Linked DNA regions of Homo sapiens: regions 2, 3, 4, 5 and 6 are each linked to region 1. Evidence: promoter capture Hi-C in 16 types of primary human blood cells and fetal thymus (Javierre and others, 2016). All regions are on one chromosome and are shown on one strand. Each heading gives the region's core, a stretch centred on a gene start or on the middle of the fragment in contact. The rest is flanking DNA. Distances are from core to core; before and after follow the strand shown.

Region 1 (2,500 bases), core at 1-2,500:
GCCCAGTTGGGAGAGGTGGGGCCCTGGGGGGACTGCTGCCACTGCTGTCCCCTTGGTCAATGTCACTGGACAAGAGCTCGTCCCCAGAGGCCAGGCCGGCCTGCAGGAGGCCACACTCATCGGCGGTGGCTGAGAACTCGGCCCAGTCCTGGTCACTCAGCTGGACGCTGTACTGGAAATTTTCCATGTGGAGTCAGCAGAGGCACTGGAGGGTAGCAGAATGGGTCCGGTGGGGTCTTCATGGGTTCAGGCCCCGGGCACCACCCTGCACATGCCGCCCCTGCCCCACGAGACCTGGGAGCTCCCACCGCCTCGGGGCTCCATCCATGCCCTGAAAGGAAGAGAACAGCATCTCGAGGGGAGGGCCGCGCTTCCTTCAAACCTAGTGGTGACGATTTCCAAGTTAGAAGATCCCCAGCTCCCATGACCCTAGTTCCCAACGCACCCCAAATGATAGCTGTGTGATGATGCGGTGTTACATTCCTAGAATCAAGGATGATTTTCTACCAGTGAAGCTATAAAACCAGCCGTCCTCAGGTTTGAATGCTCTTTCCCATCACACCTCAGCTGGGGCAGCCTCACCTCCTCCACCTTCTGCCAGAGCTGTCTTTGCACGGCAAAGCACCTTTCAGGGTCCACCCGATGGGACCAGTGCCCTCGGGGGTGGGCAGCCCTGGTCCATCCCAGTGCGCCCCAGCTGGCAGCCGGCCACAGGAAAGGTTTACAGGGCCCAGCAGGTGCCCAGCCCTCGGCGATGACCTTCCGATCGCCTTGGCTGGGCCAGGCTATTCTCTGAGCTCACCAGGTGGTGCTGGCCAGAGCTGGCCCAAGTCAGCACGGAGAGCCTGGGCAGGAGGTGCAGGCTGCGGTGGGTCTCTTGACCCAGCAGCCACCTCGGGCCGTCCTCGAGGTCTGCACCACGATCCAGGCCTGCCCGGCTGCCCGGGGTGCCTTCCTTTGCCCCGTCTCAGAGAAGCAAGGAGACCCTAGCCAGCTGTCGGGTCTACCCCTAGAGGGGGCCGCCCTCGGCCTCAGGTCAGCCCCTCTGGACCCAGGGGTGGGAAGTCACTTTGGTGGGGACGGTCCTGAGACGGAGGCCAGGGCATGGTGGCTTCCCACCCACTGACCTTCGCCCTCCTCTCTGGTCTCTTGAGAAGCCTCTGTGGGGGTTGTTACCATTGGGGCCCCTTGGGTCAGGAGCCAGCAGCTGACCATGTCCTACCTGGGTCCCGGCGGCCGAGCTGGGCGTCTGAGCTGCCCGTCCTGGGTCGGCATGGTGCTAGGCTGTGGCTGCACAGGCTCCTCCCCCTGTGCCAAAAATACCACGTCCCTGTGGCCACATGAGACTCGTGCCAGCCATCAGGGTCCAGGCCACAAATAGATGGCATTTGAGGGCCCTCCAGCTACAGTACATGAGGACGACTTCCTGGCACGGGGCCGGGCTGAGGTGGGGTCAGACACGGGCCGGAGGACGCTGACCAGCAGGCAGCACCGCTCAGTTCCCGTGCCTCCGCCACCCGCGGTGAAACCTCAGACCTGCCCTCCCTGCCGCCCCTGGAATGTTCCTGGCCTGCTTCTGAGATGGCCTCTGTGTCCCGGCCAGGGCTTGTGCCTCCCGGTCCTGACCTCTGGGGCTCATGTGAGGGTGAGTGACGCCAGGGAGCGTCAGCGTCAGAGCCCCCACGCCTGGCTCCGCTCAGCTGCACCCTCCAGGCCGTCCTGACCTTGGGGTTCACGGTGCCCATTCCCAGGCAGGTTCCGAGCCAGAGGGGACAAGAGGACAGGGCGAGGGATCCAACAATAAACATCCGATCAAACAGGCAGGTGAGCTCAGCTCCGATGGCAGCACGTCCTGAGAAAGAAGTAGGGAGAGGCGTGGCTGGAGGGGCCGGAGACCTCTCTAAGGAGGAGGCTTGGACCGAGAAGCTCCTGAGAGTTCAGGGCACGATACTAGGAGACTGGGGTGTGCGCCGTGAGGGGTGGCAGTGAGAGCTGGGCGTGCAGAAAGTGCATGCCTGGTGCCATACGATGCTTTTCCAGAAAGTAGCTGCCACGAGACCACAGGACAAGGCGTCCCGCCACGCAGGGCCGGCCTGACTTGAGCTTTCACAAGTGGAATCGCACCCTGCATCCCTTTCTGCATCTGTGTCCTCGGGCCCACGCCGTGCTCTGGAGACAGCTGCCATGAGGGCCGCGGGCGACTGCCCGGGCGGGTGAGGCTGTCCTGTGTGAACGTGCCACGCGGCTGTGCCGTTTCCCGTGGGTGGCGATGTGGGTCGTTTCCAGTTTGCAGCTACCACACACGGTGCGGCTGTGAATATCTGGGAACATTCCTTTCGGCGAACCTCTCACATTTCCAGGACGCTTGGGGTCAGCGTCAGAAGGTGCCGCCCCGTTCCCCAGGTGGCTGCGTGGCCGTGCTCCAGGCTGGAGTTTCCCAGGAGCTGCGCATCTGCTTCTGTGTGGCGTCTCTCGGCTGCGGCCGCCTCCCTGTGCCTCC
Region 2 (4,160 bases), core at 1,223-3,722, 470 kb after region 1:
CTCCTGCCTCAGCCTCCTGAGTAGCTGGGACCACAGGTGCCCGCCACCATGCCCAGCTAATTTTTTGTATTTTTAGTAGAGACAGGGTTTCACCGTGTTAGCCAGGATGGTCTCCTGACCTCGTGATCTGCCCATCTCGGCTTCCCAAAATGCTGGGATTACAGGCGTGAGCCACCGCGCTCAGCCTTTTTTTTTATTTTTTATTTTTGAGACGGAGTCTTGCTCTGTCACCGAGGCTGGAGTCCAGTGGCACGATCTTGTCTCACTGCAACCTCCGCCTCCTGGGTTCAAGTGATTCTCCTGCCTCAGTCTCCCGAGTAGCTGGGACTATAGGCACAGGCTGACACACCCGGCTAATTTTGTGTATTTTAGTAGAGACGGGGTTTCACCATGTTGCCAAGGCTGATTGCAAACTCCTGAGCTCAGGCAATCCACCCGCCTCGGCCTCCCAAAGTGCTGGGATTACAGGCATGAGCCACTGCACCTGGCCTACGATGATAACTTATAGCAAACTTTACTTTTGCTGAAAACCTTGCGAGTTTGGGATTTTAATTATCCTTTGCTATTAATAAGACTTCATTCAGTCTAATATATATATTTTTTAATGTATAAGCCACTTCAGGCCGGGCGCAGTGGCTCATGCCTGTAATCCCAGCACTTTGGGAGGCCGAGGCGAGTGGATCACGAGGTCAGGAGATCGAGACCATCCTGGCTAACATGGTGAAACCCTGTCTCTACTAAAAATACAAAAAATTAGCCAGGTGTGGTGGCAGGCACCTGTAGTCCCAGCTATTCGGGAGGCTGAGACAGGAGAATGGCGTGAACCCGGGAGGCGGAGCTTGCAGTGAGCCGAGATAGCGCCACTGCACTCCAGCCTGGGCGACAGAGTGAGACTCTGTCTCAAAAAAAAAAAAAAAAAAAAGCCCAGTTAAAAGGCATACTTAGAATTGGTATAGATGGTTCCTTCCTGGTTCTGTAAGTACTTTGAGGCTTGGCTGAGTGCAAACAGCTCTCATGCTTGAGCAGACCAGTTATTAGGAAACTTTCTTAACTCTATTTTTTTATTTTTTATTTTTTGACACGGAGGTCTTACTCTGTCACCCAGGCTGGAGTACAATGGCGTGATCTCGGCTCATTGCAGCCTCCACCTCCTGAGTTTAAGCGATTCTCCTGCCTCAGCATGCTGAGTAGTTGGGATTACAGGTGCTTGCCACTACGGCCAGCTAATTTTTGTATTTTTAGTAGAGATGGGGTTTCACCATGTTGGCCAGGCTGCTGTCGAACTCCTGACCTCAGGTGATCCTGACCTCAGGTGATCCACTCGCCTCAGCCTCCCAGAGTGCAGGGATTACAGGTGTGAGCCACAGAGCCCGGCCTCTTAACTCTATTTCCACAAGAGTTTTTCCTGTTAGTTACTGATTACCCATTGTGTCTTTTTCCTCGAATCACCTGGGAGGAACTATCTTTAAATAAGTGTCGTCCTGTAATGCACTACGGCCGTCTGTGGGTTACCACATTAAGGATAGTTGTCAGTGGCCTCCATGCCTTTCGGTAAGTTGTTTTTTTTTTTTTTTTTGAGACAGAGTCTCATTCGTCGTCGAGGCTGGAGTGCAGTGGCACTGTGTCGGCTCACTGCAACCTCTGTCTTTCCTGGGTTCAAGCAATTCTCCTGCCTCAGCCTCCTGCATAGCTGGGATTGCAGGCATCCACCACCGCACCCGGCTAATTTTTTGTATTTTTAGTAGAGACAGGGTTTCACCATGTTAACCAGGATGATCTCCTGACCTCCTGAACTGCCCGCCTCGGCCTCCCAAAGTGCTGGGATTACAGGCGTGGTGAGCTGCCACGCCGGGCGTACTCTGGCTTTTAAAAGAATGGGGCACATTGCTTTTTCTTGACTACTTCTATCTCTCCTTTTCTCTCTCTCTCTAACTCTGTCTCTCTCTCTCTCTGGCTCTCTCTGTCTCTTTGACTCTGTCTCTCTCTGTCTGTCTCTGTCTCACTCTCTAACTCTGTCTCTCTCTCTGACTCTGTCTCTGCCTGTCTCTCTCTCTCTTTGACTCTCTCTCTCTCTCTGACTTCCTCTGTTCCCTCTGTCAGTCTTTCTCTCTCTTTGACTCTGTCTCTCTGACTCTGTCTCTCTCTCTCTCTGACTCTCTCTCTCTCTCTGACTTTCTCTGTTCCTTCTGTCAGTCTTTCTCTTTCCTCTAAGATTTTTTTCCCTTTCTCTTAGAATCTCTTCTACAGGCTTATTTTTCTAGTTCTTTCTTTTGTAATTTGTGGTTAATATCTGGCCAACTGTTAGTGACAAATTCCTTGCCCAAGAGGATCCTCGACACCTCGACCAGCATATTTTCTCATTTGTTCTTTTAATCTGTCTAAAAATTATGTCGCAGGCCCTTTATCTTTTCCTTGCTGTATGTTAAATATTCGGGTAAGATTCTGGGTTCCGGGCATGGATTCTTTAATCCCCTTCATGATTAACTCCCCAAGGTCCTGCATATTTTCTCAATGGGCCACCGCGCCCGGCCAGAAGATTTTTATGGTAAAATTTTGTGATGGGAAAACTCATCCCGGAAAATGTTGAGACCTGATGCTGAGTCCTCAGCAGCTCAGAGAATACGTACTTCTGTCCCAGGTCACCCAAACATTGACCTGTGTCGGTTCCCCACTAGGAACAAAATGTAACTGAGGACGTTGTCAGATGCTTGTCCTCGTCACCCTGAGCTTGTTGGCTGCTATCTAATTCTTATTCTTTCATTTTCTTGCCCGCACGTTCTTGATAGCAGATCACTGACAACAGCCATTGGAAGCTTAGGAAAAGGGTATGTGCCGGGCGCGGTGGCTCACACCTGTAATCCCAGCACTTTGGGAGGCTGAGGTGGGCGGATCACGAGGTCAGGAGATCGAGACCATCCTGGCTAACACGGTGAAACCGTCTCTACTAAAACTACAAAAATTAGCCGGGTGTGGTGGCGGTCGCCTGTAGTCCCAGCTACTCGGGAGGCTGAGGCAGGAGAGTGACGTGAACCCGAGAGGTAGAGCTTGCAGTAAGCAGAGATCATGCCACTGCACTCCAGCCTGGGCCAGAATGAGACTCCGTCTCAAAAAAAAAAAAAAAAAAAGCATGTGTAACGTGAAAAAATGGACACTTTAGCCATCGCCTGACTTTCTGTTGAATTGGGAAAGAGCCTCCTCCCGTCCACATGGGATGGCCTTCCTGATGTGGCTCTCCAAGACCATCCCTGGAGGGCATAAAACCTCACAAATGCATCAGGCCGTGTGCTGGGGATGGGGCATCGTCACGCCAGGTCTGACTAGGAAGGAGGATGGGGAGGCAGGGCTGGGGGCTTTGAGGTCGAGGCGTGGCCGTGGATTCCAGAAAGCCCCTTGGCTGGTGTGCGTGCCTGCCCAGCGGCATCCGTGTATCCTAACACCTGCCCTCCGTGTCCCTGCATCTGCAGGCCATGTCAAAGGACGCCCTGAATCTGGCGCAGATGCAGGAGCAGACGCTGCAGTTGGAGCAACAGTCCAAGCTCAAAGTGAGTGGGGCCGGTGTGGGCGGGGAGGCCGGGGCACACATGGGGTTCGGGCGTGGAGATTGGTAGGGCTACTGCCGGTGGGTAGGGCCGGGGGTGTGTACATGGGCAGCAGTGGGGCCCAGGGCCAAGCTTGGGCGCCTCATTTCACAGAAGGAAACAAGGGGAGGTGAGAGACGCTGCCGCAGAGCCGCCCGAGAGGGAGGGCCGGTGTTGGTGAGGGCGTCTGGTCGTCCTGAGGGCCTGGATCTTCTTGACATTCTCACCTCATTTCTTTGACTCAGCAGGATTTTTTTTTTTTTTGAGATGGTGTCTTGCTCTGTCGCCCAGGCTGGAGTGCAGTGGTGCGACCTTGGCTCACTGCAAGCTCCACCTCCCGGGTTCACACCATTCTCCTGCCTCAGCCTCCTGAGGAGCTGGGACTACAGGCACCTGCCACCACGCCCAGCTAATTTTTTTTGTATATTTAGTAGAGATGGGGTTTCAGCGTGTCAGCCAGGATGGTGTCGATTTCCTGATCTCCGCCTGCCTCAGCCTCCCAAAGTGCTGGGATTACAGGCGTGAGCCACCGCGTCCAGCTCAGCAAGATTTTTTAATTTTATTTATTTTGAAACGGAGTCT
Region 3 (4,160 bases), core at 1,050-3,549, 420 kb after region 1:
TGCACCTGGCCAATTTTTGTGTTCTTAATAGGGACAGGGTTTCACCATATTGGTTAGGCTGGTCTCGAACTCCTGACCTTAGGTGATCCACCTGCCTAGGCCTCCCAACGTGCTGGGATTACAGGCCAGCCCGGCCAGAGGCTGTGTTTTCTAAAGGACTTCAATTAACTTCAGGTGCATAAACCCTGGGCTAAGGTCAGAGGCAGCGGTTCTCTGCTGGAGAAATTTTACTATTCCAGGGCCATGAAGCAACATCAACAGACTTTCGTTTTTTTTGGAAACAGGGCCTCACCCTGTTGTCCAGGCTGGAGTGCAGTGGTGACATCACAGCTCACTGCAGCCTCAATCTCCTGGCCTCAAGCAAACCTCCTTTTTCAGTCTCCCAAGTGCTGAGATGACAGGTGTGAGCTCCCACATCTGGTATGAGAGAATTTCTGGCTGTCACATCTAAGGTGGGGTACTCCTGTCATCCAGTGAGTCGAGACCAGGGATGTTGCTGAATCCTGCAGCACACAGGAGAATCCCCTACAACTAAAGATTACCCAGCCAGATGCGGTGGCTGAAATCTGTAATCCCAGTGCTTTGGGAGGCTAAGGCCAGCAAATCCTTGGAGCCCAGGAATTTGAGACCAGCCTGGGCAACACAGCATGACCCCATCTTTACCAAATAAAAAATAAAAATTAGCTGGCATGGTTGGCGTGCTCCTATAGTCCCAGCTACTCAGGAGGCTGAGGCAGGAGAAACTCTTGAGCCTAGGAGGTTGAGGCTGTAGTGAGCCATGATCATACCACCGCACTCTGCCCTGGACAACAGGAAACCTGTCTCAGGAGGAAAAAAAAGATTATCCAGCCTGAATGTCAATAGTGCTGAGATTAAGATTCCCTGCTCCAGAGCACTCAGAAACTTGTGGGACAGAAGCAGCAGCAGGGCCGTGCACTGACATGGGTAAAGCAGGAAGCCAGCCCCAGCGCGACCCGCCACAGCGCACTGTCCTCACTGGAGCCCCTGCCCTTACTAAACCGCATCTACTGATGCCTCTGAGCAGGCTCTGTTGGTGGAGCTTGAGACTGCGCTCATGAATATCCCACAGGTTTAGAGCCTCAGGCCTGTATTGTGTTATACAAGCCTTACTGTAACTTAATCAGAAATAAAGAAAATAGGCATCTATGATAGACTAGACAGCTCTGACTGACTCACTTTTTGTCTCTCAGCTGTCGAAGGCGGTGAAACACATTGATGACGTCCCGTATGCGTCTTGGGGCCTCTTCTATCTTGGAAGCCAGGTGGACACAGGCCATTGACACATGCTGAAGCGGAAGCATTGCAACACGCCCATGTTTGTCCCCAGCCACGGCGTCCTGACGGCCGCCAAAGGCTTGAGGGCTATTCAGACCAAAAGGGAGGTGCACCCAGGGGAAAAAAAAAGTCAAGAAACAGAACCCTCCGGCACAGAGCTCAGACTGGGGGGCAAGTACTCACTCCCTTAGTAACCGGGCAAAGTAACAAACCGTTTTACCCTCAACATACTTCGCTGGGAATGAAGTGCAGGAGGAAGCCTTACCTCCATGGAGTGCTTCACGAAGGACTTGGTATAAAAGAACCGCTGGAACAACACCTGCCCGGTAGCCATGGCCACCTAGAGTAGAAGAAAGTTTCCGTATTTTCAAACGCACCATTCAAAGCCTTCGCGGCCGAAAGTCATCGAGTAACGTGGGACTCCCCACGCAGAACCAAACACTGAAACGCTTCCCACGTCCACAAAGGCTCTTCGCGTCCCGCCGTCTCGGGATCCAGCGCACTGGCGGGCGGGGAGGCCCCGGGTCAGGGGCATGGGCTGGCTAGGGAATGGCGCCGAGGCTGGGGTCGGGGCAGGGGCTGGGGTCGGGGTCTAGGCGGGGGCGGTGCGGGCCCGACTCGCCGCCAACAAAGGCGGCTGCCGCCCCAGCGGTTACCTGGGCCGGAGGCTCGCGGCCGCGCCCTCACCTGCGGCAGGCGGAGCAGGATACCGGCCGCCTGGATGAGCTCGCAGCCCACCACGCGGAGGTCGGTCTCTGTGTCGGTGTCGAGGCCGCTCGACATGGACGGCGTGAAACGGAGCTTGTCGTCAGGCAGGAGGCAGTTCTCCAAGGTGATGAGCACCCCGGAGTACAGCCTGTCCCCGATCAGCACCCCCTGCGACCCTGAGGGTGCGCCCCCAGATCCCGGGGCGCCGGCCGCTGCCGCGGGAGCTGCCGACCCTGCAGCACCAGCCGCCGCCGCCGCCGCCGCCATTTTGTGCCGCCGACTCCCCTTCGGCTTCTTCCCTCAGGGCGGCTCCTCGCGAAGCTCCACGGCCGCCACCGCCCCGCCCCGTCGCGTGCCATTGGTTCGGCCCGCGACCAGCGCGACGCCGCCTAGCCGCAATTGGCTACATAACCTGCCCGTCAGCAACGCGCCTAACGCCGACGCCGGAACCTGGCGCGGGTGGGGCGGGCTCGTTACCCAGGGGACTCCGCGGTGCCGGCCGACCCGGAAGCATGTCTGTCCCTAGCGGAGGCGCGGGTGCCGTGCTGAGAGCGCCTGCCTGTGCGCCCCGAGCGGGGCTGGGACTCTTCCAAGATGCCCACGTTCGCACAGAGACCCCGGATCGCGGAAGCTCGCGTCTCGAAAGGCCTGTGGGTCAAGGGGGGCCATCTCGGTGGGATCTGGGGCGGGACGACCCCCACTGCTGAACCCTGGGCGCGGGGCAGGGTCAGAGGCTCCGCTCGGCCTCCCCCTGGATGAGACGCGCATGCCCGGTGTCCCCCGGCCGCCGTCGGCGTCGTGTCTTCAGTCCTTATCGACTCCAGACTTTGGGGATGCGTATTAACGCCAGACTCCTGCAAAGTCTTGCCTTCAACACTCAGCCCCTGGGGAGAGACGGGTGGAGGGATGACTGGAAACGTGGCCTCGACGTCCCTACAGAGCCCCTCCAGCGTGGGGAGGCCTAAGTACCTCAAGGTTCAGGCCCACGGAAGGAGTCGGGGGAGCGAGGCCCGGTGATCTACGTGTGAAGGAGCTTGGACAGGACCTCACAAACGCCAGGGAGACGGCGAGGGGGTTCGTGCGTTTGTAACGTCTTGACATCGCTGATCCTCCCGCAGGCGGTCTCACGCCCTGCCCGTCCTGGGTTCACGGTTTTTCATCACCTGCGGCTGTCCTGCGATCGACCACAGCTGTGCAGGAGGGGCAGGAGGTATCTGTTGCTGCAGTTACCGGAACCTTTGCCAGGACTAGTACAGGACCACGGGTGAGGATGGTGGGGAAGCCTGCGTGGGGCAGGGAACGGTGAGGCAGGAAGAGGGAAGGGCAGCAGAGGCCTGAGTGGTTGCAGGTTCACACACTGAGCTGCCAGTAACTGCCCAGCTCAGACGGGCTCAAATTCAGAAGCCACCATTGCTCCTCACCCCCACCCCCAGGTCAGCTGTCCACTAGCTCTGCCATGACTTGATACTGCAGCTCAAACAGTGCCAACCAAAACCCACTCTCCTCACCGCCTGTTATGGGTAACACGGTATGGTTACAGCTTTACTCATGTCCTCTTTCCCCAGGCTGGTAGCTCAGGGATGTCTCGTCTGTGAGTTACAGCTGCACGCTCTCCAGGAAAGAAGGAATTTCCTCTTCTCTGGAAACCCCACCACACAGCTGGTTTCTCATTGGTGCTGCTTGCCCATTCCCTGAGCTGTGACTGCCAGAGGAGTGGGAGGTTGGTGGTGCCTCCAGCCCATCAGGGGCAGGCCCTGGGACCGCCTGGGAACAGGAGGACTATGGCACAAACCGAGTGAGTGATGGGAGCAACCCGCAGGGCTCTGCCACATCCCTGTCTTCCTTCACTGACATGAAACGCAGAAAAGGCAGCTTTGCCACAACACAGGAGCACGCACCGAATGTGGCCGCCCAGGGCTCTGTCCTTGACCCTGTTGTCCAGGACTGTTTACCAAGGGCTGACAGGCACTGAGTGCCCCGTGCACCTGGCCAGACACTGCACTCATGCAGCGGAAAGGACAGTGAACGAGACTTTGTCCCTGGCCTCCAAAGGCTTAGGGCGTAGTGGCTGTCATGAGGCACAGTGACAAGGGCCAGGAGGGGGACCTCTTAGGGGGCCATGCAGTGATGGAAGCCAGAAGGAATGAAGGCCTGCA
Region 4 (4,160 bases), core at 640-3,139, 360 kb after region 1:
GGACTCTCAGACCCGACGGACGGACGTAGGTGGGCTGGGAGGGCCCACAGGTCCCCAGAGGCCGCCCACCACCCTCCTGTCCTGTCCACCTAGCCAGGGAGACAAAGACCTCCACTCACCAAACCTCCCTGCACCTCAGGACCTAGAGGGGCAGCAGGGGATGCGGAGCCGGCAGGGCCCCCAGGAGAGCAAGCTGGCCAGGTGCCTCACCAGTCCACCCCCAGGTCAGATAGGCTTGGGAACGGGGCAGAGGGCACCCAGGCAGGCCGCAGAGGGTCAGGGGACACGAACCAGGAGGAGGCCGGGTGACCCGAGCTCAGAGTTCAGAGGGCAGGGTGGCAACCCACACGGCACAGAGGGGATGGCTGGGCAGGGGCAGGTCCCCAGGCCAAGGAGCAAGGCAGGCAGGGCTGTGGTCGACACTCACACTGTGACCTCTGAGGGCCCAGGCAGCAGGCTGGGTAGGATCTGGACGCCGCCTCGTGGCACCCTGCCCTGCCCAGCAGCATTTTCCACGCCCGGGACTTGGGCCCAGTGGAGAAATAGGAGCCCGGAGACGGGGCTTGGCCTGGCCGCACACCTGGCAGGAAGCGGCCTTGTGGCTGCTAGTCCCACTGCGAGCTACAGAGCCACCCCGACTGGCCGCTCCAGGTCCCCTGACCCCGGGGCACCTTGACTCAGCCAGACTCCGAAGCAGTAGGTAGCAGGAGGCCCCCGGCAAAGTGGCAAACCCACACTCTCACCCAAGCCCTGGCCCACCCACTTGCTGGGAAGAGGCCCCAAGCCTCAGGGCAGAGTGGACAGCAGGCAGGGCCAGCCCAGGTGGGAGCAGGGACCCCTACCTAGCCCTCTGGGGTCCTGCAGCTGCCTCCCCAGGCCACCCAGGGCCAGGCCATGAGGTAGACGCCCCCAAAGAGCAGAGAAGGTCACTTCTCAGACCCCTCCACGTCTGCTGCCCCCACACAGGAGCCTTCCCAGGTAAGACCATGACCCCATGCCAGGCTGAGGCCGCCACAGTGAGAGGCTGTCACACCTGAAAGGCTGGAGCAACCCAGGGTGAGGCGGGCCCCACGGACACCGAGGCCACCACTAGCTGCCGCCAGGGGGCCAGGGCCCACAGTGAGCCCTTGTCTCTAATGGACCTGACCACAGCAGAGCCCCTGGCAGGGTCCCCACCTCAGTCCCTGACACACGGCCCCAGGTGGCCTGGCCGGCAGCTTCTCCCCTGCCACACCCAACCCCAGCACCCTCTGACTCACCTGAGGGAGACACTCAGTCACCCAGCACCCTCTGACTCACCGGAGGGAGACTCGGCCACCCAGCACCCTCTGACTCACTGGAGGGAGACTCGGCCACCCAGCACCCCAGTACAGCACCCGCCTGGCTCCACCGGAAGAGGGCCCTGCCCCCTCCCACCATCCAGAGTGGCCCAAGCCCGCATGGCCCACCCAGCCAGGGCCTCACGAAGACCCCAGGCTGCCTGGGATGTCCCTGCCCCCTGCCCCCTCACAGATGTCCAGCCAGGACCCAGAGGCCCTACTCACTCCGCCCTCTTCAGCCCAACAGGGTGTAACAAGTCCTCCCCTGCCCCCAGTGGCAGGGTGCAGACCCAAGCCTGGCTGGGCCAGGAGAAAGGGAGCAGGACCCAAACAGCACAGAGGGAAGGGTGGGGTCTGCCTGGGGCTCCAGGGATCAGCTACCCAGGTCCCAGGCAGAGCCCTGCCGTCCCCACCCCAGCCAGATGGGGGAGGGTGCTGGAGGCTGGCCAGGCATTGGGGGCGTACCCACAACCCGGGGTCCCCGCGCCTCTGTAGCAGCCTCCGCTGAAACTCACGGCAGCTGCCAGGGGCGCCCCTGCCGGCACTGTGCCCCCACCTTGGGATTCCCTGTGAGGCCTGGCTAACCTGTGTGCTGCCCCCACAGACCCGCCCCGGGGAGGAATCCACTCAGAGGCAGCGCCCTGGGAGCCAGCATGGCCACACAGGATGCAGAGAACCCTCCAGACTCCCAGAGGCCACAGCCAGCTGCCCTAGACGTGGCGTGGTCCCGAATGCACCCCATTCTCCCAAGGCGGAGCAGGAAGCTGGCAGGGGTAGCTGGCCCAGGACAGGCGGTGCAGAGCCATCCTGTGCCCTCAGAGCCCCCTGTGCACGCCCCAGGTCAGGGCCCTCAGCCTTGGGGGTCTGTGGCCTCCCAACCCCTGACCCCAGAGCCAGGGGCTCTCCACCAGCCTGTCCCCTGGGTGGTGCCGAGTCCTGGGATCTCTCTGTGCCCCTCCCCCGGTTCAGGACACACAGGCTCAAGTGTCCCTGCTAGGCCATGGCTATGAGTGCAGTAGGTGAACTGCCTGGACCCTCCCAAAACCAGGGAGGCACTCAGGGCACAGAGAGGCTGAGTCACAGACCCCAAGTGGCACAGCCAGGGAGGGCGGAGTGGGAACTCCCCCCACAGCCCAGGCCAGGCAGAGCCTCCCCAACTCCATAGCTCCCCACAGCACCACCCAGGACACAAGGAGCTGTCACAACACCGAGGCCCATGGCAGGCGGCCCTGGGGACCAGGGCTTTGGGCCCACAGCCTTGCCTCCACCCATCCCCCAGTCCCAGGCCTGGGTCACCCCCACCTCGGAGATGAACTGTGGGAGCTGTGCCCAACAGACAGCCTCGGTGCCAAGTCCAGCAGGCCCAGCATCCGCCACGCACCCAGCAGTGGGGACCCGGAGCCAAACACCCTCCCTCCTCTGCCTCGGCCCAAGGCTGGGCGAGACCCCCTGCCAACCACCAAACCCAGCACCAGGCAGAGACCCTCCCCAATTCTGCCCTCCTCCCAGCCCTGGGGATCTTGGGTCAGAATAGCTGTGACCAGGGCATGAAAAGTGGAGGACAGGCGGGGGACCTTCACCCACTGGGCCAAAGCCGTGCGTGGGGAGTGGGGTCCAGACCAGGGCACGTGGTTGTGGCCATGACACAGGCTCCCTGCACTGCAAGGTGGTCAGTCATGCTCTGGAGCAGAGGCTGGGGAACCAGGGCTGGGCTGAGAATGCAGCGGGGGCTGGCGCAGGAACCCCCGACTCACCAGGGCCTCCTCAGCGTCCCCAGCCTGAAGCTCCCTCTCTTATGAAGGCCACCCCAGACCAGCGAGGACCTGCCTTCTCTTCCCCCCATCTCCAACTACATTCGCTTGGCATCCAGGGTCAGTGTCTAGTTCAGCAGTCGCTTAAGCTAAAGTATTACTGACCAACCAGCCCCTCCCACGGGGGTTCTATTCCACAGAACAGACAGTGCTGAGAGGTCTGCGGGTAGAACTCAGGGGAAGGGATGAAGGAAGTAATTGATGAGGGTCCTCCGTAGGCTCCTGAGGCCACCAGCCAGAGGACCAGGGAGGACACAGAGCAAGGCCCCCATCCCAGCCAGAGGACCTGGGAGGCTACAGAGCAAGGCCCTCGTCTTGGACCTCCAGCATCACCCCAGTCCATTCTTTCCAACCCCCACAGCCCAGCCCAGCCCAGCCCTGACCTCTGCAGCCCCACTGACTCCCAGCCCCCTGTAAGTCTGCAGCCTCCAAAGCTGTACACTGAAGCTCCCCTGTCTCTTTCCTGGCCGCATCCCCAAGCCTGCCTCGACACCCAGACCTGCCCACCCTGTTCCCAGGCCCGGGCACCCACGCGTCCTCCAAATGTGCCCAGCAGGTGCAGCCACTGCTAGAAGTGCACTAGGGCAACAGTCAGGCTGTCTCTGCCCTGGGCAGCCCCCGGTGGGTGTCAGGAGCAGAAGGCGGACTCCCCCAGGGCTTCATCCCAGAGCATGGTCCAGGAGCAGAACCTGGGGGCTGGGCACCTCCTCACTACGCATTTCCTGGTGGCACACATTTGCAACAAACAGCATTAGTAACTTTGGTAACTTTCGTTAGAATAATAAACTAAGTCAAAAACAAAAGTACCTGACACATGCCCCATGCTCAAGGCCAAAGCAGCCCAGGCCCAGAGAAGCAGGGACTGCAAGGTGCCCCAGCTGGGGAGGAGCCCGGACCAGACTCAGAAAACAAACCGCCCCCTCCTGCCCAACCTGACCGGAGCGGGCAGGAGGGCCGCTGAGCCGAGTGGGGAGCGCCCAGCCTTCAAAGGCTGCCAAGGACGCACCCTGCCCTCTCTGCTTTGCCTGGT
Region 5 (4,160 bases), core at 1,256-3,755, 330 kb after region 1:
CAGGAGTTGCAGCCACCCCTGAGCAGGGCCGGATGCAGAGACAGCTGCACCCAGAGCTGCCGCCCTCGGGTTTGGGGCGCCCGTGTCCCTGGAGAGCCAGCAAGGGGGGATGGCTGCACCCAGGAGCTCACGGACGTGCTCATGGGGACAGGGTGGGCCCTGGCAGAGGCCCCGAGAGCCGCTCCCACTGCTGGGAGCCCCTCAGCTCTCCCTTCCTCAGTCCTGGGGACCTAGGCCTCCTCTGCTGTGCTCAGCCCAGGATTTCCTCAGCAGCTTGGAGGACGGGGAGGAGGGTGAGGCTGCCCCCCAACCAAAGCCATGACTCAGCGCCTGAAGCCCCACCCAGGGGAGGGGCACACTGAACAGAGGCCAGGCGGTTCCCCTACACGGGCTCCCCTGGCCTCCGGCCCACTGCACCTGGGCTGCCACTAGGCCCTCCCCAGACCAGGAGGGTGCGGGCAGGGTCCCCCTCTCCCGGGCTGGGGCGACCAGGCTCCACGTTACAGACCACATCTTCCCGCCCACCCTGCCTGGCCCCCCAACCTGGCGGTAGGCCAGGAAACTCAAGTTACGCCCTTAGGGCCTGCCCCCAGGACAGCCTCAGGGAGCCCCTCGAACCCCAGTTAAATCACAGCCTAACCCCAAAACCCACTGGGCCAGGCCATTCTCATCTCCCCACTCCAGTCCATGCCCCACAGGGGTGAGGCACTTTCCCAGGGCAGTCACTCTACGGCACCTACTGCAGCCCCACAGCCCCCATAACTGGCTCCTGTAACAGGCTCCCATGAGAGCCGGTTACCAGAGAGAAGGCCCAGAGGTGAGTGGGTTCCAGCACCCCCACACGACTGGAAGAGGGCAGTACAGGGCCGTCTGCGTGGAGGAGGAGGTCCATTAGGCTTCTGACGGAGGGGCCAGGGAGAAGGTGGGTGCTTCAGCCAGGGTCCAGCCCCCAGCAGGGAGGCCATGCCCACACCTCCCCACAGCCCGGGTCCTCAATGCAGGATCCTAGGGTGCTCAAGTTATTCAACCCCTTTTCCCAGGTCAGCAACAGAAGATGGGAGAGCAGAGGATGGCCCCAGTTCCTCTGCCCAGGGCTGGCGGCCACTCTCCTGGCTGGCCCTGAGCCTCCCACTCCAAGGCTCCTGAGCCTCCTGGTGAGGGCTCCAGGGATACAGAGGCTCCCCGTGCCTCCACACACATGCTGACTTGCCAGCAGATCCCAAGAGACCCAGCGCGCGCGTGCACACCCACACATACACAATCAAGCACACATGTGCAAACATGTTCATGCACAAACATGCCTGCACACACTGGTACCACACATACATGTGTGTTCAAGGAGACACTGCACAGACACGCATCAACATGTGTACCTAGTGATGGAACACGCGTGTACAAGGTGATGTGTCTATTGCTGACATGGCTAACACAGTACGTGAACCCACACAGACAGGTGGTGTGTGCACACGCTTGCGTGCACTCATCGGCAGGCTACATGCAGAAGCAAGCACAGCCCCGTGGCACAGCTCATCCACACGTCCTGTGCAAGGCCTGGTGTCCGGAGGGAGGCACGCAGAGGGGCAAAGTTCACAAGAGCGCACCCCGCACGAGCTCGTGCAGAGGAGGGGGCCTCACGCAGGTGCGCACTTGGGGATGCAGAGAGGTTTCTTTGCCTCCATTGTCGTTTGCCAAATGTCCACCAAGCAAAGCCGATGCACACTTGTGCACACGTCTGTGAACATGTAGTTCACGCAGGTGTACACGCCTGCACGCCACGAATGATGGAAAACATGCAGACTCGGTGTGCACACAACCCCTACCCCCTACCTGACCTTCCCCGCCGCTCTTCTCGGCCGCCACCCCTCCAAGCCCCTGGGTCATTCAAACCACTTCACGTTTCCAAGCACCCTACCCCAGGCCTTAAACGCGGCTCCAGCTGCCTGTTCCCCACGCGCTGCTCTGGACACAGGATCAAGTCAGAGACCAGGGGCCGACGCCCCCACGGACCCAGACGACCCTGGCCAGAGCTGGACTGCAGGGCCCGGGAGGGGCTCAGCCCAGTGGAGGTGCAGACACAGAGCGGGGGCGGACGGTCCCGAGGTGCCCACGGCTGCCCACGCGCACGCCCTCCACCCGGGGCGGCCGCACAGGGCAGGAGCGTCTTTTGTTCCAACCCCCGGGGCATGGCGGGGCGGGGCCGCCGCTTTGTCCGAGGCCGGTCCTCCAGCCCCTCCCCGGCGGCCGCGGCCCGGCCCGGCGCTGACCTCCCCACCCCGCCGCCGGGCACAAAGGCGACAGCGACGCCCCCGGCCTGCGCCCACCCCGGCGGCCCCGGGCGGCGCACCTGAAGCGCGGGGAGTCCTTGACGCACTCCTCGAACTCCACGGTCATGGCTGCGGCGGCCGCGGCGCTCACTGGCACGAGGACCGCGGCGCCGAGCGGCAGCCGCGCCGGCCCGGACCGCTCGTCCCGCCCGCGCCGCCTCGGCGCCCGCCCGCCCCGGAATGAGGCCGCCGCGCCGCGCCCCGCCCCGCCTGTCACCGCCGGGGAGCGTCGCCAAAGTCAGCCGCCCGCGCGCACCGCCCGCTGTCACTGCCGGGGAGCGTCGCCAAGGTCCGCCGCCCGCGCGCGCCGCCCGCTGTCACCGCCGGGGAGCGTCGCCAAACGCCTCTCGCAGCGTCCAGGGACCACCCCGGTCCGGAAGTGAGGCGGGGCCTGCCACGGCCGTCTCCGGGGACAGTCGGTGGAAATGTGGGGCGCGGGGAGGGCGCGGGGAGGGCGCGGGCCCGCCCGCTCCAACCATCCCGGCCGTTGCGCAACTCAGGGCGTTTGCAAAAACCACGTCTGGGAGGACTTGGCCGCAACGCGGCGAACGGGCGCGCTCGGGGAGTGTGGGCGGCGGCGAATGAATGAGCGAGTGAACGAATGCACGCCCGCGAGAGCGCGGGGTGACCGCGTGGTTGGTGCGCGCCTCCCGGGGCGCCGCGATAGAGGTAGAGCGCCTGCGCTCGGCGGCGGGCCGGCACTTTGCAGCCGCTCCCTAAGCCCGGCCCCGCCTCCGCTCCCCGACTCTGGCCGCCGTGGCGCGGTGCCACCGCGCAGGCGCAAGAGCGGCCGGGGCCGGGGGGGAGGGGGGGGGGGCGTGACCAGGCCGCGTCCGCGCGCGCGCAGGATTCCTGCGCTGGAGGCCGCCTCTGACGCCACCGGCTGGGCTCCGCCATGAGTTCGGCGCCGGCCTCAGGCTCCGTGCGCGCGCGCTATCTTGTGTACTTCCAGTACGTGGGCACCGACTTTAAGTAGGTTTCCCAGGCGCAGCGGCGGGCGCCACGTGGGCCCGGGCGGAGGCGGGAAGGAGGGCGCGGGCGGGCAGGCGGATGTCTCTGGACGCGGGTTCCAAACGTTCGGGGAAGGAAGCGGCCCTGGCCTCAGACGGCGGCGGAGACCCCAGGGCAGGGCGCCCCCGGTAACCTCCGCCCGCTTCTGCCCGCAGCGGGGTCGCGGCCGTCAGGGGCACTCAGCGCGCCGTCGGGGTCCAGAACTACCTGGAGGTGCGCTCAGCCGGTCACGGGACGCCCGGTGAGGGGTAAGGGGGAGGCTCCCGCCCGCGCGTCCCCGGGGTCCGGCCTCGCTCACCCGCCCGCCCCGCGGCTCGGTCCTGCAGGAGGCCGCCGAGCGGCTGAATTCCGTGGAGCCGGTCAGGTTCACCATCTCCAGCCGCACGGACGCCGGGGTCCACGCCCTGAGCAACGCGGCGCACCTGGACGTCCAGCGCCGCTCAGGCCGGCCGCCCTTCCCGCCCGAGGTCCTGGCCGAGGCCCTCAACACACACCTGCGGCACCCGGCCATCAGGTGAGCCCGCGACCTAAGCAGCCCTGGGGCTGTGCCTTCCCGACTCCATCTGTCGCGGGCGGAGGCTGGAGATCTGGACAGACTTCCTTGTCTGGTCGGAGCTCGAGGGGGAAGGAGAGCCAATGTGACACCGCGGGCGGGCGGGGTCGTTCCTCCGGTGAGCTTTACCTGCCGCCATAGGGTCCTGCGGGCCTTCCGAGTGCCCAGCGACTTCCACGCTCGTCACGCAGCCACGTCCCGGACCTACCTGTACCGCCTGGCCACTGGCTGTCACCGGCGTGATGAGCTGCCGGTGTTTGAACGCAACCTAT
Region 6 (4,160 bases), core at 956-3,455, 300 kb after region 1:
AAACCACGTCTCTACTAAATTTACAAAAACTAGCCAGGCGTGGTGGCGCACACCTGTAATCCTGGCTACTTGGAAGGCTGAGGCAGGAGAATCGTTTGAACCCAGGAGGCAGAGTTTGCAGTGCGCCGAGATCGCACCCCTGCACTCTAGCCTGGGCAACACAGTGAGACTCTACCTAAAAAAAACAAAAAGTGTAACAGCAGCTTTAAGGCAGGCAGCAAAGGAAACAGAGAGATAGAGAACTTAGGAACTCTATAGTTCTTTTTTTTTTTTTTTTTTGAAACAGAGTTTTGTTCTTGCAGCCCTGGCTGGGGTGCAATGGCACGATCTCAGCTCACTGCAACCTCCGCCTTCTAGATTCAAGCTATTCTCCTGCCTAAGCCTCCCAAGTAGCTGGGATTACAGGTGCATGCCACCACGCTCGGCTCATTTTTGTATTTTTAGTAGTGATGGGGTTTCACTCTGTCGGTCAGGCTGGTCTCGAACTCCTGACCTCAGGTGATCCGCCCGCCTTGGCCTCCAAAAGTGCTGGGATTACAGGCGTGAGCCACTGCGCCTGGCCAGGAACTCTATGGTTCTGTAGTTGCAGGCTGACCTTTGGGCTCTGAATTTTTCCTGGATGGAATTTGCCCATCAGTTTAAAATGTGCCCCAAAAGACCATAATATGGAACCAGCTGGGGCACTAGGAAACCCAGCATGCCCGCGACATGTTCAGTTTTATACCAACACTTGCAGGTAGAGGCGCCTGAAACCAGCGGGGTGCCTGGAAGGAGGTCGCCCTCTTGTCTTTGCTGAGGCTTACATTATTTATTTCCCACTTTTTTTTTTCTTGAAAGGAACCGAGCTGTGGCCTGGGGTTCCATGGAGCAGGTGGGGCGCGGAGGAACTGAGCTGTGGCCTGGGGTTCCGTGGAGCAGGTTGAGTATGGAGGAACTGGGGTTCCGTGGAGCAGGTGGGGCGCAGAGGAACCGAGCTGTGGAATGGGGTTCCGTGGAGCAGGTTGAGTGTGCCGGTCGTGGACGGGTCGTGGGCGGGACTCCCCAGTGTGTCACCACTGAGGCATCTTCGCCCTCTTACGTGTCTCTGTTTCTCTCTCTAGAAGTCCAACACCTCCGAGAGGACTCAAAACACAGAGTGACCAGCTCCTATGTGCATTTCCTGGACAAACCTTTTTTTTTTTTTTTTTTTTGAGACGGAGTCTCGCTCTGTCGCCCAGGCTGGAGTGCAGTGGCACGATCTCGGCTCACTGCAAGCTCTGCCTCCCGGGTTCACGCCATTCTCCCGCCTCAGCCTCCCAAGTAGCTGGGACTACAGGCTCCCGCCACAATGCCCGGCTAATTTTTTGTGTTTTTAGCAGAGACGAGGTTTCACCGTGTTAGCCAGGATGGTCTCGATCACCTGACCTCGTGATCCACCCGCCTCGGCCTCCCAAAGTGCTGGGATTACAGGCGTGAGCCACTGCACCCAGCAGACAAACCTTTTTAAACTAATTGTGTTGGGGGGTTCCCTGTGGGGCTGCTGCACGTCGTGGGGGATCAGCCCACGAGATACTCCCACTTGGCTCACAGTCACCCAGGGGCGCCTTTCAGCTGGGAGGAGCAAAATGCCTTTCTTTCTGGAGCTGAGAAAACTCAGTCTCTCATTTATCTATGCAAAGAACAATTCAGTTCCTCATGCAAATGCACGCACAAGCCAGTTGGGCTTAATTTTGGGAGAAAAAGCAACAGAGAAGACCCTTAGGAACGCACGTCCGAGCTAGAAACCAAATGGGGTACCCAAAAGGGAGTCGTTCTCCTTGTCTTAAGAAAAAGGTGGCCGGGCGCAGTGGTTCACACCCGTAATCTCAGCACTTTGGGAGGCCGAGGCAGGCGGATCACCAGGTCAAGAGATCAAGACCAGCCTGGCCAATATGGTGAAACCCCATCTCTACTAAAAAAATATACAAAAATTAGGCTGGGCGCAGTGGCTTATGCCTGTAATCCCAGCACTTTGGGAGGCCGAGGTGGGCGGATCACGAGGTCAGGAGATCGAGACCATCCTGGCTAACACGGTGAAACCCCGTCTCTACTAAAAATACAGAAAATTAGCCAGACGTGGTGGCGGGCGCCTGTAGTCCCAGGTACTCAGGAGGCTGAGGCAGGAGAATGGCGTGAACCCGGGGGGCGGAGCCTGCAGTGAGCCGAGATCGCGCCACTGCCCTCCAGCCTGGGCGACAGCGAGACTCCATCTCAATAAATAAAAAAAAAAAAGAGTTGTTATCAGTAGAAGGGAATGTCTGGTTACAGTATGGCGTTGTGCAGATGAAGGTCTTATCGCAGATGAAGCCACCAGGTCACAAGCCTCAGAGAGAATCAACTATAAATGCTTCTCATCAGACTCAAGGCCTGAGGTGATGCTGATGCTGTGCCTGAATTCCAGCAGGGAGGAGGCATGAGGTGCGTCCGACTCCCTTCCCATCACAGCTGAGCTAGTTTTTCAGGTTAACTTTGGAATGCCCATGGCTAAGACCAGGGGTCCATCCAGACAGTTCAGGGCTTATAATTTTATTTTTGGTTTATGAGGGAACCTAGAAGGCAGCCCACACGCACCTTACTCCTCCCAGCAGGGGACACCGGCCAGACCCCAAGCTCCACACTCCCACCCTCAGCACCCACCCAGGCCAGCAGCCGGGGGCACCTTGGTGCCACCTTAGTGCCTGTTCTGCGGAGGCTCCACTGGACAGTGCAGTTGATGCCCGGGGCCGAGGGGGCTCTGCCTGGGAGGCTGTTCACCTGCCTGGGTGCAGGACCCCAGAGGGACCCCAGGCCACCCCTGGCCTGCCCATGCCCACGGGAATCCCGACCTTGGGCTGCCTGTCTATTGCACCAGAACCGTCCCAGGGCTGACTCAGAGTGACCCTGAGTGGGGGACGCTCACCCCAGGGGAGGAAACGGGGCTCTGGGATAGGAGGTCCTGGCTGGGGTCCCACAGATGCCAGGCGCCTGCCATCTCCAGGGCAGTGCTGTCACAGAAGACAACACCGCTCCCTCGTTACCTGTGGCCCGGCCACCTCAGCGGCCCAAGGAGGTGAGCTCACAGCCATGCTCGGTCAATGGGGCCTGGCCGTCTTTCCTGGGAGAGAGCAGAGGCATGGGCCCAAAGGGAGCCAGGGATGCCTGCCCGTCCCTTCTCTCATTCAGGCTCACCTGGTCATGGTGCAGTGACCACAGGACCCCCACATGCCGGGAGCTGGGTTCGCCCCACCCCACCCCCTGCACCGGGCCAGCGAGGGGATGGCCCAGAAGAGGGGGAGGACCATGTGGATTCACCAGTGCTGGACATGTGCTCTGTGGCTACCCCCTCTGCCTACTCTCTGGCCCGATACAGGGGTGTGGGACAGGTGACTGAACCTCAGCCCTTAGAGGCCTTGCCCGGGAGGAGGGGAGGGGGGTGGAGCCGGGAGCTGCGTGATCCAGCCGAGATGTGCTCTGACTGAGGCCCTGCAGGGCATACGGGTCATGGAAGGGGTGCTCTGCCCCCGGCCAGGGCTCCCCCTCCTACAGGAAGCCGGGGGCCTTGCTCCTGCAAGCTGCCCTTTGGCTGGACCGGGCCCCACTGGCCGGACCTGGGCTCTTTCTCTCTCTGCACCCTGCACCAAGGCTGGGCTGTCTGCCAGGCCACTCCCGGGGACACAGGGAGGCACAGGCTGCTTCCAGCCACAATCTCTGGCAAGCACCTAGGACCTTGTCCCCGCCTGCCAAGTAGCCGCCCGGGCCATGTGTGCCCTGTCTCCTCGGCAGGTGCGGCCCACGCACAAAGCTGCCCAGATGTGGTGGGGGAGAAGCCCCAGGCCTGTGCTGTGTCCGGGGGCCCTGCCGCTGACCTGTGGGGTCTCTGTGACATCAGCAAGCCCCCTGCCGCGAGCTTGGAGAGGCACCCCAGCCCCATCTGGCACTCAAGGAAATCAGCTCAGAGAGGTTGAGTAACTCGGGAAGGCCACACAGCCAGTGACGAAGCTGTGATTCACACAGGCCTGGGTGACTCCAGCATGGCTTTCCTCTCCAGGACGTCACCGGTGGCAGCTGCTTCCTTCCAGAGCCGGCAGGCAGGTGACCTCACCCTCCTCAGAGCCATGGCTCTGCTGCTGGACCCTGTGGGGCTGGGCTCCCCCAGCCAAGCC

The links. Contacts are between HindIII fragments. The CHiCAGO score rates a contact against its expected background, and 5 or more counts as called.
Region 2: a contact is called between the fragment with the promoter of ATAD3C here and the fragment with the promoter of PERM1 in region 1, in 6 of 17 cell types (activated CD4 T cells, total B cells, naive B cells and 3 more). The highest score is 12.9, in activated CD4 T cells.
Region 3: the fragment with the promoter of CCNL2 here is called in contact with the fragment with the promoter of PERM1 in region 1 in 1 of 17 cell types (activated CD4 T cells); the score reaches 6.8 in activated CD4 T cells.
Region 4: a contact is called between a fragment that was not itself captured here and the fragment with the promoter of PERM1 in region 1, in 2 of 17 cell types (naive CD8 T cells and total B cells). The highest score is 6.4, in naive CD8 T cells.
Region 5: the fragment with the promoter of ACAP3 here is called in contact with the fragment with the promoter of PERM1 in region 1 in 9 of 17 cell types (naive CD4 T cells, activated CD4 T cells, total CD4 T cells and 6 more); the score reaches 9.9 in naive CD4 T cells.
Region 6: the fragment with the promoter of SCNN1D here is called in contact with the fragment with the promoter of PERM1 in region 1 in 13 of 17 cell types (activated CD4 T cells, naive CD4 T cells, M0 macrophages and 10 more); the score reaches 15.8 in activated CD4 T cells.

The regions. Positions count from the first base shown.
Region 1 is chr1:980,843-983,342 of GRCh38, forward strand. It overlaps PERM1 (PPARGC1 and ESRR induced regulator, muscle 1), which reads right to left and starts at 1,251. Exons shown (of 4, transcript NM_001394713.1): 1 at 1,223-1,251; 2 at 1-331. The coding sequence starts at 187. The HindIII fragment of the contact is 23,754 bases long and covers 1-2,500 here.
Region 2 is chr1:1,447,217-1,451,376 of GRCh38, forward strand. ATAD3C (ATPase family AAA domain containing 3C) reads left to right here and starts at 2,473. Exons shown (of 12, transcript NM_001039211.3): 1 at 2,473-3,542. The coding sequence starts at 3,468. The HindIII fragment of the contact is 12,234 bases long and covers 1-2,811 here.
Region 3 is chr1:1,397,036-1,401,195 of GRCh38, forward strand. It overlaps CCNL2 (cyclin L2), which reads right to left and starts at 2,300. Exons shown (of 11, transcript NM_030937.6): 1 at 1,984-2,300; 2 at 1,562-1,636; 3 at 1,198-1,307. The coding sequence starts at 2,271. It overlaps MRPL20-AS1 (MRPL20 antisense RNA 1), which reads left to right and starts at 2,495. Exons shown (of 3, transcript NR_015434.1): 1 at 2,495-2,654; 2 at 3,123-3,268; 3 at 3,570-4,160. RefSeq lists silencers at 2,013-2,192, 2,263-2,502, 2,793-2,852 and an enhancer at 3,238-3,781. The HindIII fragment of the contact is 37,128 bases long and covers 1-4,160 here.
Region 4 is chr1:1,343,699-1,347,858 of GRCh38, forward strand. The region is part of intron 1 of DVL1 (dishevelled segment polarity protein 1); the gene reads right to left. Among named protein-coding and RNA genes, the nearest start is that of DVL1, 3.6 kb to the right of the region's middle. RefSeq lists enhancers at 2,343-3,221, 3,423-4,052, 4,053-4,160. The HindIII fragment of the contact is 5,737 bases long and covers 1-4,160 here.
Region 5 is chr1:1,305,425-1,309,584 of GRCh38, forward strand. It overlaps ACAP3 (ArfGAP with coiled-coil, ankyrin repeat and PH domains 3), which reads right to left and starts at 2,506. Exons shown (of 24, transcript NM_030649.3): 1 at 2,345-2,506. The coding sequence starts at 2,391. PUSL1 (pseudouridine synthase like 1) reads left to right here and starts at 3,173. Exons shown (of 8, transcript NM_153339.3): 1 at 3,173-3,296; 2 at 3,491-3,548; 3 at 3,662-3,849; 4 at 4,030-4,160. The coding sequence starts at 3,220. RefSeq lists silencers at 2,055-2,274, 2,325-2,494, 2,535-3,214, 3,435-3,504, 3,535-3,674 and 2 more. The HindIII fragment of the contact is 38,674 bases long and covers 1-4,160 here.
Region 6 is chr1:1,278,231-1,282,390 of GRCh38, forward strand. SCNN1D (sodium channel epithelial 1 subunit delta) reads left to right here and starts at 2,206. Exons shown (of 18, transcript NM_001130413.4): 1 at 2,206-2,436; 2 at 2,996-3,067; 3 at 3,181-3,380; 4 at 4,012-4,085. The coding sequence starts at 2,432. It overlaps LINC01786 (long intergenic non-protein coding RNA 1786), which reads left to right. Exons shown (of 3, transcript NR_185846.1): 3 at 838-2,377. The HindIII fragment of the contact is 8,116 bases long and covers 1-4,160 here.